Linked DNA regions of Homo sapiens: all the other regions are linked to region 1. The links are contacts of gene promoters, found by promoter capture Hi-C in blood cells and fetal thymus (Javierre and others, 2016). All regions are on one chromosome and are shown on one strand. Each heading gives the region's core, a stretch centred on a gene start or on the middle of the fragment in contact. The rest is flanking DNA. Distances are from core to core; before and after follow the strand shown.

Region 1 (3,243 bases), core at 338-2,837:
CACTGTGAAGGCTGAGAAACTAACACAGGAAAAAACTACTGAAAACCAGTCAGTCCTTGGGTTAAAATTGTTTGGGGTTGTTGGCAGTTCAAGGTAAGGCAATCTCTGGCCTTCTAACCTTATATATCTTTTGGTTTAACTCTTTGTTCTCAATTCAGTTAATTACAGTGCAATGTCTAAAACCAAGAAGCGTATTTAAATCACTAATCTGAAGAGGCATGACTTGGAATTTGAGAGGCGTCTGAATACCCAACAGAAGCCTCTAGTGAGACAAGTGCCTGAAAAAGGAAGCGGCCCAGGAGGACGACTCCTTTCAGTCCTCTGTAGAGAGAATACGCACGATGGCTGCGCTTCTGAACTCTCCCGGGGTGGAAGCTGCAGCCTGGCTTTTAACCGGAATTGCCCAGACCTTGAAAGTGTTTCTTTGTTGCTCTTAAAAAGAGGAATTCACGTTGCATCGCAGTCTGTGATAAAGTCTGTCTTGGGGCAGAGCTGCATACGTTTTGTGTTTTTTTTTTTTTTCAGAAAAGAAAGGTCGAGAAAGAAAAAAACAAGTCATTCAGGGATGGTCCCTGTGGCCAGTCGGAAAGGTGAGAGACTCGGGCTTTGAAAACGATTCACATTCTGCCCTTTAACTTCAATGCCTTCCCTCCGGACTGCGCCGGAGCAGACGATTCAATGGACTCCTTTTGTATCCAGTTTATTGCTCAGAATCCCTAGGGTCTAGATTTGCTCTCAGAAGAAACGCGCCCCGCTGAGCTGCTCTGGGGGCTGCCCCTCCCGTCTCCCCATTCCTTTCTCCGGGCCGGGGAGGGCAGGGGAGGCAGCCACTGAGCCGATGTCGCTGGGGACCCGCACCAGGCACCACAGCCAGGCTCCAGAGCGGAGTCCCATAGGTGCGCTCCCAGCCCCCGTGTTGCGTCTGGAACGCAGTGGGAGTGGGCCCGGATCACCTTCCAATGACACCCGCATATACTCTGCAAACTGTGCAAAAGCCCTTGAAAAGTCCAGAGATGGGACAGAAGCCCCCAGCAGAACCCAGGCCGGAGCCCCGCGCACCTCGGATAAGGGGGTGGCGGAATGCACCCACCTGGTCCCTGAGGGCAGCACCCTTAGATTGCCCAGGCTGCCGCGGAGGAGGACGATCGCCGCGCGGGCTCCGCTCTCGCCGTCTGGGCCACCGGCGCGCACCCCTAGGAACTTCTCTGGCCGCGTGTAGACGCGGCGCGCGGCTGCCCCAGTCCCAGGGCGGAAGGAGCCGGCGCTGCTCAGCGCGCGCGGGTACGCAGCGGGCACCGCGGGACGCAGGTGCCCCTGGAGCCGCACGCGGGGCAGGTACAGAATCCAGTATGCAGAGGCAGAGGAGAGGGAAGAGAGCGGTGCGAGGAGCCCCGGGCCGCGCGACCCCGCCTTTTCCTCGCCCCAGGAGCTCCCAAAGGGAGCAAAACGCCCCCCACCCCCGCCCACCGCCGCGCCTCCGGGCCCCCTCGCCGCCGGCACACCGCGCTCTGATTGGCTGGCGCGATGGGTCCCTGGCACGCGCCTATGGATGTTGTTATAAGAATCCTCGCGTGCCGGCCCTCAGCTCCAGGAAGTCCGCCACAGCCCTCCCCAGCGCAGCGCGAGCGCGGGCCAGAGCGCAGCGGCCGCGGGCACTCCAGGGAGGCCCGGGGGCGGGCAGCCCGGCGGCCGCCTAGCTGCCCCCAGCCAGGGCCCCGGGAGGGAGGGGCTCGGACGGGCCTTAGAAACTCACCAAGAACTAACACGCGCAGCCCGGCAGTCCCGCTGCCCACTGCGGCGGCGAGCATGGACGCGGTGTTGCTGGAGCACTTCCCCGGGGGCCTAGACGCCTTTCCTTCTTCGTACTTCGACGAGGACGACTTCTTCACCGACCAGTCTTCACGGGACCCCCTGGAGGACGGCGATGAGCTGCTGGCGGACGAGCAGGCCGAGGTGGAGTTCCTTAGCCACCAGCTCCACGAGTACTGCTACCGCGACGGGGCGTGCCTGCTGCTGCAGCCCGCGCCCCCGGCCGCCCCGCTAGCGCTCGCCCCGCCGTCCTCGGGGGGCCTCGGTGAGCCAGACGACGGCGGCGGCGGCGGCTACTGCTGCGAGACGGGGGCGCCCCCAGGCGGCTTCCCCTACTCGCCCGGCTCGCCGCCCTCGTGCCTGGCCTACCCGTGCGCCGGGGCGGCAGTACTGTCTCCCGGGGCGCGGCTGCGCGGCCTGAGCGGAGCGGCGGCTGCGGCGGCGCGGCGCCGGCGGCGGGTGCGCTCCGAGGCGGAGCTGCAGCAGCTGCGGCAGGCGGCCAACGTGCGCGAGCGGCGGCGCATGCAGTCCATCAACGACGCCTTCGAGGGGCTGCGCTCGCACATCCCCACGCTGCCCTACGAGAAGCGCCTCTCCAAGGTGGACACGCTGCGCCTGGCCATCGGCTACATCAACTTCCTCAGCGAGCTCGTGCAGGCCGACCTGCCCTTGCGCGGCGGTGGCGCGGGCGGCTGCGGGGGGCCGGGCGGCGGCGGGCGCCTGGGCGGGGACAGCCCGGGCAGCCAGGCCCAGAAGGTCATCATCTGCCATCGGGGCACCCGTAAGTGCTTCCGCTTCCCAGCTCAGGGAGAAGGGGTCGGGCACTCGAAGGCTCCGGAGGGGCTGGGGGAGCTGACTGCCAAGCAGACAGTCGGACCGACGGATTGTCGGTGGGCACGGAAAAACTTGAATGCGAGCTCGCGTTTCTCGTTTTTTTTTTTTTTTTTATTTTTCTGCCACGTTGACCGCGGCTCTCAAGGGCGCGCGTCCCCGCCAGACTTGCAGCTCCTCGGATTCCTGGGAGGGGACGGTGGGGACTTGAAGTGTGGAGGAAGAGGGTGGTTCTAGTATAACCGGAGAGCACCCAGGAAAGGGTCCTAAAGGACCTGATGGGACCAATGGGAATGTGGTTGGATATTCACAGTCTGTTTTCTCTTCTCACCTGTCCAGGGTCCCCCTCCCCCAGCGACCCTGATTATGGCCTCCCTCCCCTAGCAGGACACTCTCTCTCATGGACTGATGAAAAACAACTCAAGGAACAAAATATTATCCGAACAGCCAAAGTCTGGACCCCAGAGGACCCCAGAAAACTCAACAGCAAATCTTCCTTCAACAACATAGAAAACGAACCACCATTTGAGTTTGTGTCCTGAGAAGTCCCAGACTCGGCTGAAGATCTGATTATGTCTCTGTGCATATTGTACATGTAAATAT
Region 2 (3,243 bases), core at 513-3,012, 1.3 Mb after region 1:
CCCACTTTTTCTAAATAATGAACATCTTTTTCCCAAAATGCCACAGTACTTGGATTTTACCAAAGTCATCCCATATCTACAGAAGTGACTGCACTTCTTCCCCTCCTTGTGGGTGGCTGAGGAGAGAGAGAGAAGCTTCTGGAAGAGATGGTACAGGTTCTGTGGAGGCCAGATAGGCTTGGCATAAAGAGAGGATGGCGACCTCCTACTTCTTTCATCCCCAATCTCTTTATTCTGCTTCCTGATAAATAAAAAATTGGGTTGTTCATTACATTTGTAGGACTCCTGAGAATTTACTGTCCCTTCCCAAGAGAAGGAGGAGGTAAAATATCAACATAAAAAATAAACACAGTAGTGCATAGAGCCCTATGTATTTGAAATGATACAATTCAATACAATTTCCTTAATGTGTCTTTTTATGAGATGGCGCCTCGTGGAAATGTGCCAGGGTCTCATTTATCTTCTGACATGCATAACAATGGTCACGGGAATGCGGATCCCTGAGAACAGCATATTGGAGTTTCCCATGTGCAACAGACCCGTGTCCCCTGCCAAGCAGAAATAATAAACGGAACTAGTACAGGGCTTGACGATTAGGCTGCTTACAATGTGCCAAGGTCTAGTCAGATCTTCAGACAACAAGAAGCTTTCTAAGATGGGGAGACAGCACCCCAATAACATGGGTTATATAGCTGTGACCAGGCATCCCTTGTCTTGTTCCCTGAAGCCTGCAGGAACAGATCCAGGTGGGATCAGGAGTCGTTCTGAGGTCTGGCTTTCCTCCTGAATCTTTCTGATTTGTGGTATAACCACTGTTCCATGTCACTGCTAGACAGCAAAATCAGTCCAATTACATTATCCATTGTTGGCAAGACTGATAGTCTTAGATTTTACCTAAGAAATCAAAATTGAGTATGTGAGATATAGGTCCATTTTCAGGTTGGGGGAATTAGGTTTAGGCATTTGCTAGTTTCTCCATGAAGTGATTTGGATAACTTATTTGGTCCAATTAAAATTTTAATGGACAAGAGCATTATTTCTGTCTCTTATTTTACAAGAGTGCTTATAAAAATGGCAAAGCATTTTCAATAAATTATCTTTCTAGCTATGAGGAATAACTGCAACTCTACTTGCCCTCCCACTGTGGGCAACTAGAAAACTGAAAAATAAGCAAATGTATGAAACAAATGTTTTCAGAAATTAAACAACACAGGACCGTAATCCTTAGGAGAATGGGGGGAAAAAACCTACAGTTGACCCAGCTTTCTGTCTGGAGGCACTTTTCAGATCTTGGTGCAGGAAGGAAAAACCCAAGCATGGCACTGACAGTGAGTTGAGGAGATAAGACCAAAGTTTAGAGAGAGCTGAAACAGCTAGAACTGGTGGACTGGAGAACCAAACACAAGAAAGCTCTGCAGAGAAAGAAGTACATCAATAAATGGGTCTGTTATTAAATATTAAGCCAAGCATGTACAGTGTGAAAGCAACCGCTAAGCCAGGCAGAAACTAAGTCGGGGGCTGTAAGCCAAAAAGTTCCCGAAGTTCACACAGGCCTGGGAGATGTTCACGTTTTGAAAAGCAAAAAGCGAAGAGGCCTTGTTGAGCACCTGGGCATTTTGTAGAGATCGGAGAAGGACTGTGCCTCAGTCTTAGGACTAAACTAGCCCCAGAGGAAAGACTACCCTTGATTTAACCTAACTGCTTAAAAATAAGCCTTTAAAGGACAAAGCTGATCCACAAGTAACTGGACTGTCTGCCAGAGAAAGTCCAAAATCTGTAAAGGAAAACAACAAAATTCAGAGCTCCATGCCCAATATCCACTCAAAAATTACTAGACATGTGATGATGCTGACAAATGTGACCTATAACATTAAGAAAAATTTGTCAAGAGAAACCAACCAGACATGGCAGGGATAATGAAATCAGCAGCAAGGACTTCAAAACAGCTATTATAATTATTCTCAAGGATTTAAAGGAAGACATGAACATAATGAGGAAAGAAATGGAAGATATAAAAAATATCCAAGTGGAGCTTTCAAGAGCTGAAAAACAATATCCAAATGTGCTTAACAGAAGATTAATCACTGCCCAAAATGTCAGTCACCCTAAAAACAGCAATGGAAACTGTTCAAACTGAAGTATAGAGAGACAAGAGACTAAAGAAAATGAATTAAAATGTAGTGACCAGTGAGACAATATTAATAAAAGATGAAGTGGAAAGAGAAAAATATTCAAAAAGGTAATGACTGAATTTTTTCCAAATTTGATGAAAGCTGTAAATCCACAGACCAAAAAAGCTCAGTGAACCCCTAGAATGGTAAGCACAATGGAAATTGCACCAAAGCACATGGTAGTCAAATTGCTAAAAACCAGAGATAAATGGAAAAATCTTCAAAGCAGCTGGGGGTGGAGAGAAAACCCATTACATACAGGAATCACAATTAAGAATTAATGCCAACTTCTCATCAGAAACAAAAGGCAAGTCAGGACACAGTGGAATGACGTCTTTAAAGTATTGAAAGGAAGAAAAGTCTTTCAGAAAACAGAGAATACTTCCTAACTCATTTTATGAAGCCTGCATTACCCTAAGAGCAAAACCAGACAAAAATATTATAAGGGAAGAAAACCACAAACCAATATCCCTCACGAAAATATATGTAACAAATCCTTAACAAAACGTTAGTAACTGAATCCAGCAATATATAAAAAGAATAATACATTATCCTGGGGTTTTATTCCAGGAATGCAAGATTGTTTTAATACGAAAAAAATCAACGTATTTGACCTTATTAACAGAAAAATCGTATTTCAATAAATGCAGAAAAAGCATGTAACAAAATTTAGCATCAATGATAAAAACAGCGCTCTAGAAGTAGAAGGAAGCTTCCTTACCTTGATAAACAATGTTTGTGAATGACCTACAGAAAACATAGTTAATGGTGAAACACTAAACACATTCCCCATAAAATCAGGAGCAAGGCCAAGAAACCTACTCTGACATCTGTTTAACACTGTACTGAAGATTGTAGCAAGTTCAGTATGGCTAGAGAAAGAAATAGAGTCACACAAATCGAAATGTAAAATGTCTAATTGGCTTTACTCACAAATGACATGATTATATATGTGTAACATTAAATGGAATCTACAAAACATGCTACTAGAAATAAGTGACTTGAGCAAGATCACAAGAATCAAGTCAATGTACACAAATATTAAAATTTTGTTATATCCATTTGTACAATG
Region 3 (3,243 bases), core at 305-2,804, 1.0 Mb after region 1:
TGCACCACGGCCCCCAAGCCTTCATGAGCACCGTTGCCCAAAGGCTGTGCTCTGGTTGCACCCTTGCTCCCAAGCTCCCCTCACAGGCGCTTTCCCCTATCCTAGCAGCTCCACGTCTCCTCTGCTCTGAGGGTGGTTTCCATCTTTGGCCTCATCCTCCTGGAAGCCCTGCCCCCCAGGGAGGTCCCTGGCATCACAGTCTTAGCTTACAGACTAGAGGTCTCAGTGACTAGAGCAGGCGCCCAGCTGCAGGGAGACTTTGATAAATATCTATGGCCGAACTGCATGATGCCTTAGGGCTCTTACAGCAATGCCCCCCAAATAATACCAGACCCAATTCTATAGTTGAAAGAAGAGGAATTTTAGAAAATAGGTATACCGGGCCAGGGGCAGTGGCTCATGACAGTAATCTCAACACTTTGTGAGGCCAGGGCTGGAGGATTGTTTGAGCCCAGGAGTTCAAGACCAGCCTGAGCAACATAGTGAGACCTAATGTCTACAAAAAAATATAAAATTAGCCAGGCATGGTGGAGTGTGCCTGTAGTCCCAGCTACTTGGGAGGCTGAGGGTAGAGGATTGATTGAGCCCAAGAAGTTGAAGCAGTGAGCTGTGATCATACCACTGCAATCTAGCCTGGGTGGTGGAGTAAAAACTTGTCAAAAAAAAAAAAAAGAAAGAAGAAGAAGAGAGATACCTCCCCTTTTATTCTTCATTTCCATCTAGCAAAATAATAAAAATAATATTGATGATTGAGGGGTCGCCTTGGACAATTGCCTTGGACTTCAGTAGTGAAAAAAGAGGATAAAAGATCCTAAGGTATTCATCAAGTATAACAGAGCAAAGGCTGAACAGGACCCTGGAGACGAGAAAGATGGGAGAGATGAGAGCCACACGTTCGAGAATGCTCCAGGAGTCAGTTTGTTCAGCAGCAAAGTTGGGGGATGTTGGTGGGGGAAACAGGGAGAAGTGTACTCCATGATCCTAGTTTTGGCAACTTGATTGGTTCCCCTTCCTTCTTGCTCCCCCTACCCCCCAACCCCCACCTCCACAGGTCACTGCAGCTTTGAGAAATGGCAGAGGAGAAGCTCAAGGGCAGAAAATAAGCCAGGAGAGTCTCTTTCCCCCAAATACTCTATTGAAAGGGTTGATAATGAGGCACTGTGGGTAAAGCAAGGTAGCAACCCAGGTGCTTGTATCTGTAGAAGCTCTCATATTCTCGTGGATTCCACCCTGGCCCTTCAGGAACTCTGGGAAATATGCCATGGTTTTGCTCCCTCTGGGATAAAAGGGGTGAGCAGATACATGTTACACTTTTCACTTATAAGTTGCCACCTGGAATCCAGACTTTGTCTGCAGTGACCAGAGGGCAGAGCTGAGCGGGGCTTTCAAGACGGTATGCTGCACAGATGCCAGCTCTGGCCACAGTGCTGTGCACACGGGGTCTTTGCTGCCCAGCATCTATCTTCCAACTTAAAATAGATAAAAGAAACCATAATAAAAACCAACATCAATGGGTTCTCTTAAAAAGAAAGCAAATATGCTTAAAGTATTAACACATTGGATCTATGTGTAGTTTCACATCATATGACCACATGAGGAATTTGTGTGGAGTAGCAGGAGAGTTCCAAGACATTTCATAGGGAGATTTGAGTGTTGGTGGGTGGCGAGGGGCTCCTGGGCACCTCACTTATTGTCTGGCAGGATCTCCTTGGAGCCACTGGAATTTTAAGGACTTTAAGTAAGGGAAGATTGGTTACCCTCTGGAGAGAATGCTGGAGGTTACCTGGTGAAATTGTTGCTCTTAACGCAGAAGGGAAAATTCTGTTTTGATCTATGAGTCATATAGAAATGTATTATACTATGGAATCTGCGAAATTGTTTGTTAGTGGGGCTTGTAATACGGTCCGTGTGAGGCTCACACCTTTGCTCTAATTATTGTTTAAGATTAATTATTTTTTAATTATTGTTTCAGATTCTTTTATAGGGTCTTTGTTGGGAAACTCAAACAGTATCATTATGTTCCCCTCACATTTGGAAACCTAAGGCGCCCAGAGGGCTTATCTTGGGATCACACATAGGTGGCCATCTGTGCTGGTTTGCCAGGGACAGTCGTGGTGTCTTATTGTCCAGTTGTAATTATTAATAGTGTCTACTTTCCCTCTCACAAATGCTGGTTTATACTAAGTATAAGGTCACCCTAACCACCTGACACATTGCTGTCAAAACTAGGATTGGAGAGCCCACATTTCACATGCGCCAGATCATCCATTTAAGCAAATGTTATCCCAGTTGTTAAAAATCCTTTATTTCTGACTTACAGGGCCTCATACCATAGCAGCCTGTCTTTTAGAAACAGTTAATGTGGAACACATCAAACACGAGGCCTCTGGTTGAAACACTTTTGTTGACTTCTTTGTTTTTCACTTTGTTTTAATTGACTCTCACAGTTATGAATGCCTTTGAAAAGTACATTTTAAGGACTTCAGCAAGCATTAATTATTTCTTTTGTGTCCTGATGTCAAGTCATTTTCAACTATCTGGTTCTTAATAGGATTTAAAGTGAAAAAATATTAAATATGTATCAGGGCAATTCCACTTACTCTTGGTTCTTGCAATGATTTCTCTGTTGAAAAACTTACATAGGCCAGGCACAGTGGCTCACGCCTGTAATCCCAGCGTGATTACTTTGGGAAGCCAAGGTGGGCGAATTACCTGCGGTCAGGAGTTCGAGACCAGCCTGGCCAATGTGGTGAAACCCCGTCTCTACTAAAAATACAAAAAAAAAAAAAAAAAAAAAAAAAAGCCAGGCGTGGTGGCACATGCCTGTAATCCCAGCTACTCAGGATGCTGAAGCGGGACAATTGCTTGAACCCTCGAGGCAGAGGTTGCAGTGAGCCGAGATCGCGCCATTGCACTCCAGCCTGGGCGACAAGAGCAAAACTCCGTCTCAAAAAAAAGGAAAAAATGCCGGGCGCGGTGGCTCATGCTTGTAGTCCCAGCACTTTGGGAGCCCGAGGCAGGCAGATCACAAAGTCAGGAGATCGAGACCATTCTGACTAACACGGTGAAACCCCATCTCTACTAAAAATACAAAAAGTTAGCTGGGCGTGGTGGCATGTGCCTGTAGTCCCAGCTACTTGGGAGGCTGAGGCAGGAGAATCACCTGAACCCAGAAGGTGGAGGTTGCAGTGAGCCGAGATCATGCCACTGCACTCCAGCCTGGGTGACAGAGCAAGATGCTGT

The links. Contacts are between HindIII fragments. The CHiCAGO score rates a contact against its expected background, and 5 or more counts as called.
Region 2: a contact is called between a fragment that was not itself captured here and the fragment with the promoter of PTF1A in region 1, in 1 of 17 cell types (M2 macrophages). The highest score is 5.6, in M2 macrophages.
Region 3: a fragment that was not itself captured here is called in contact with the fragment with the promoter of PTF1A in region 1 in 1 of 17 cell types (M1 macrophages); the score reaches 6.0 in M1 macrophages.

What each region holds. Positions count from the first base shown.
Region 1 is chr10:23,190,725-23,193,967 of GRCh38, forward strand. It overlaps PTF1A (pancreas associated transcription factor 1a), which reads left to right and starts at 1,588. Exons shown (of 2, transcript NM_178161.3): 1 at 1,588-2,590; 2 at 2,980-3,243. The coding sequence starts at 1,807. The coding sequence ends at 3,182. The HindIII fragment of the contact is 14,718 bases long and covers 1-3,243 here.
Region 2 is chr10:24,505,456-24,508,698 of GRCh38, forward strand. The region is part of intron 9 of KIAA1217; the gene reads left to right. Among named protein-coding and RNA genes, the nearest start is that of ARHGAP21, 220 kb to the right of the region's middle. The HindIII fragment of the contact is 2,237 bases long and covers 645-2,881 here.
Region 3 is chr10:24,202,527-24,205,769 of GRCh38, forward strand. It overlaps a transcript of KIAA1217 not described here. Among named protein-coding and RNA genes, the nearest start is that of KIAA1217, 5.0 kb to the right of the region's middle. RefSeq lists an enhancer at 1-481. The HindIII fragment of the contact is 5,088 bases long and covers 1-3,243 here.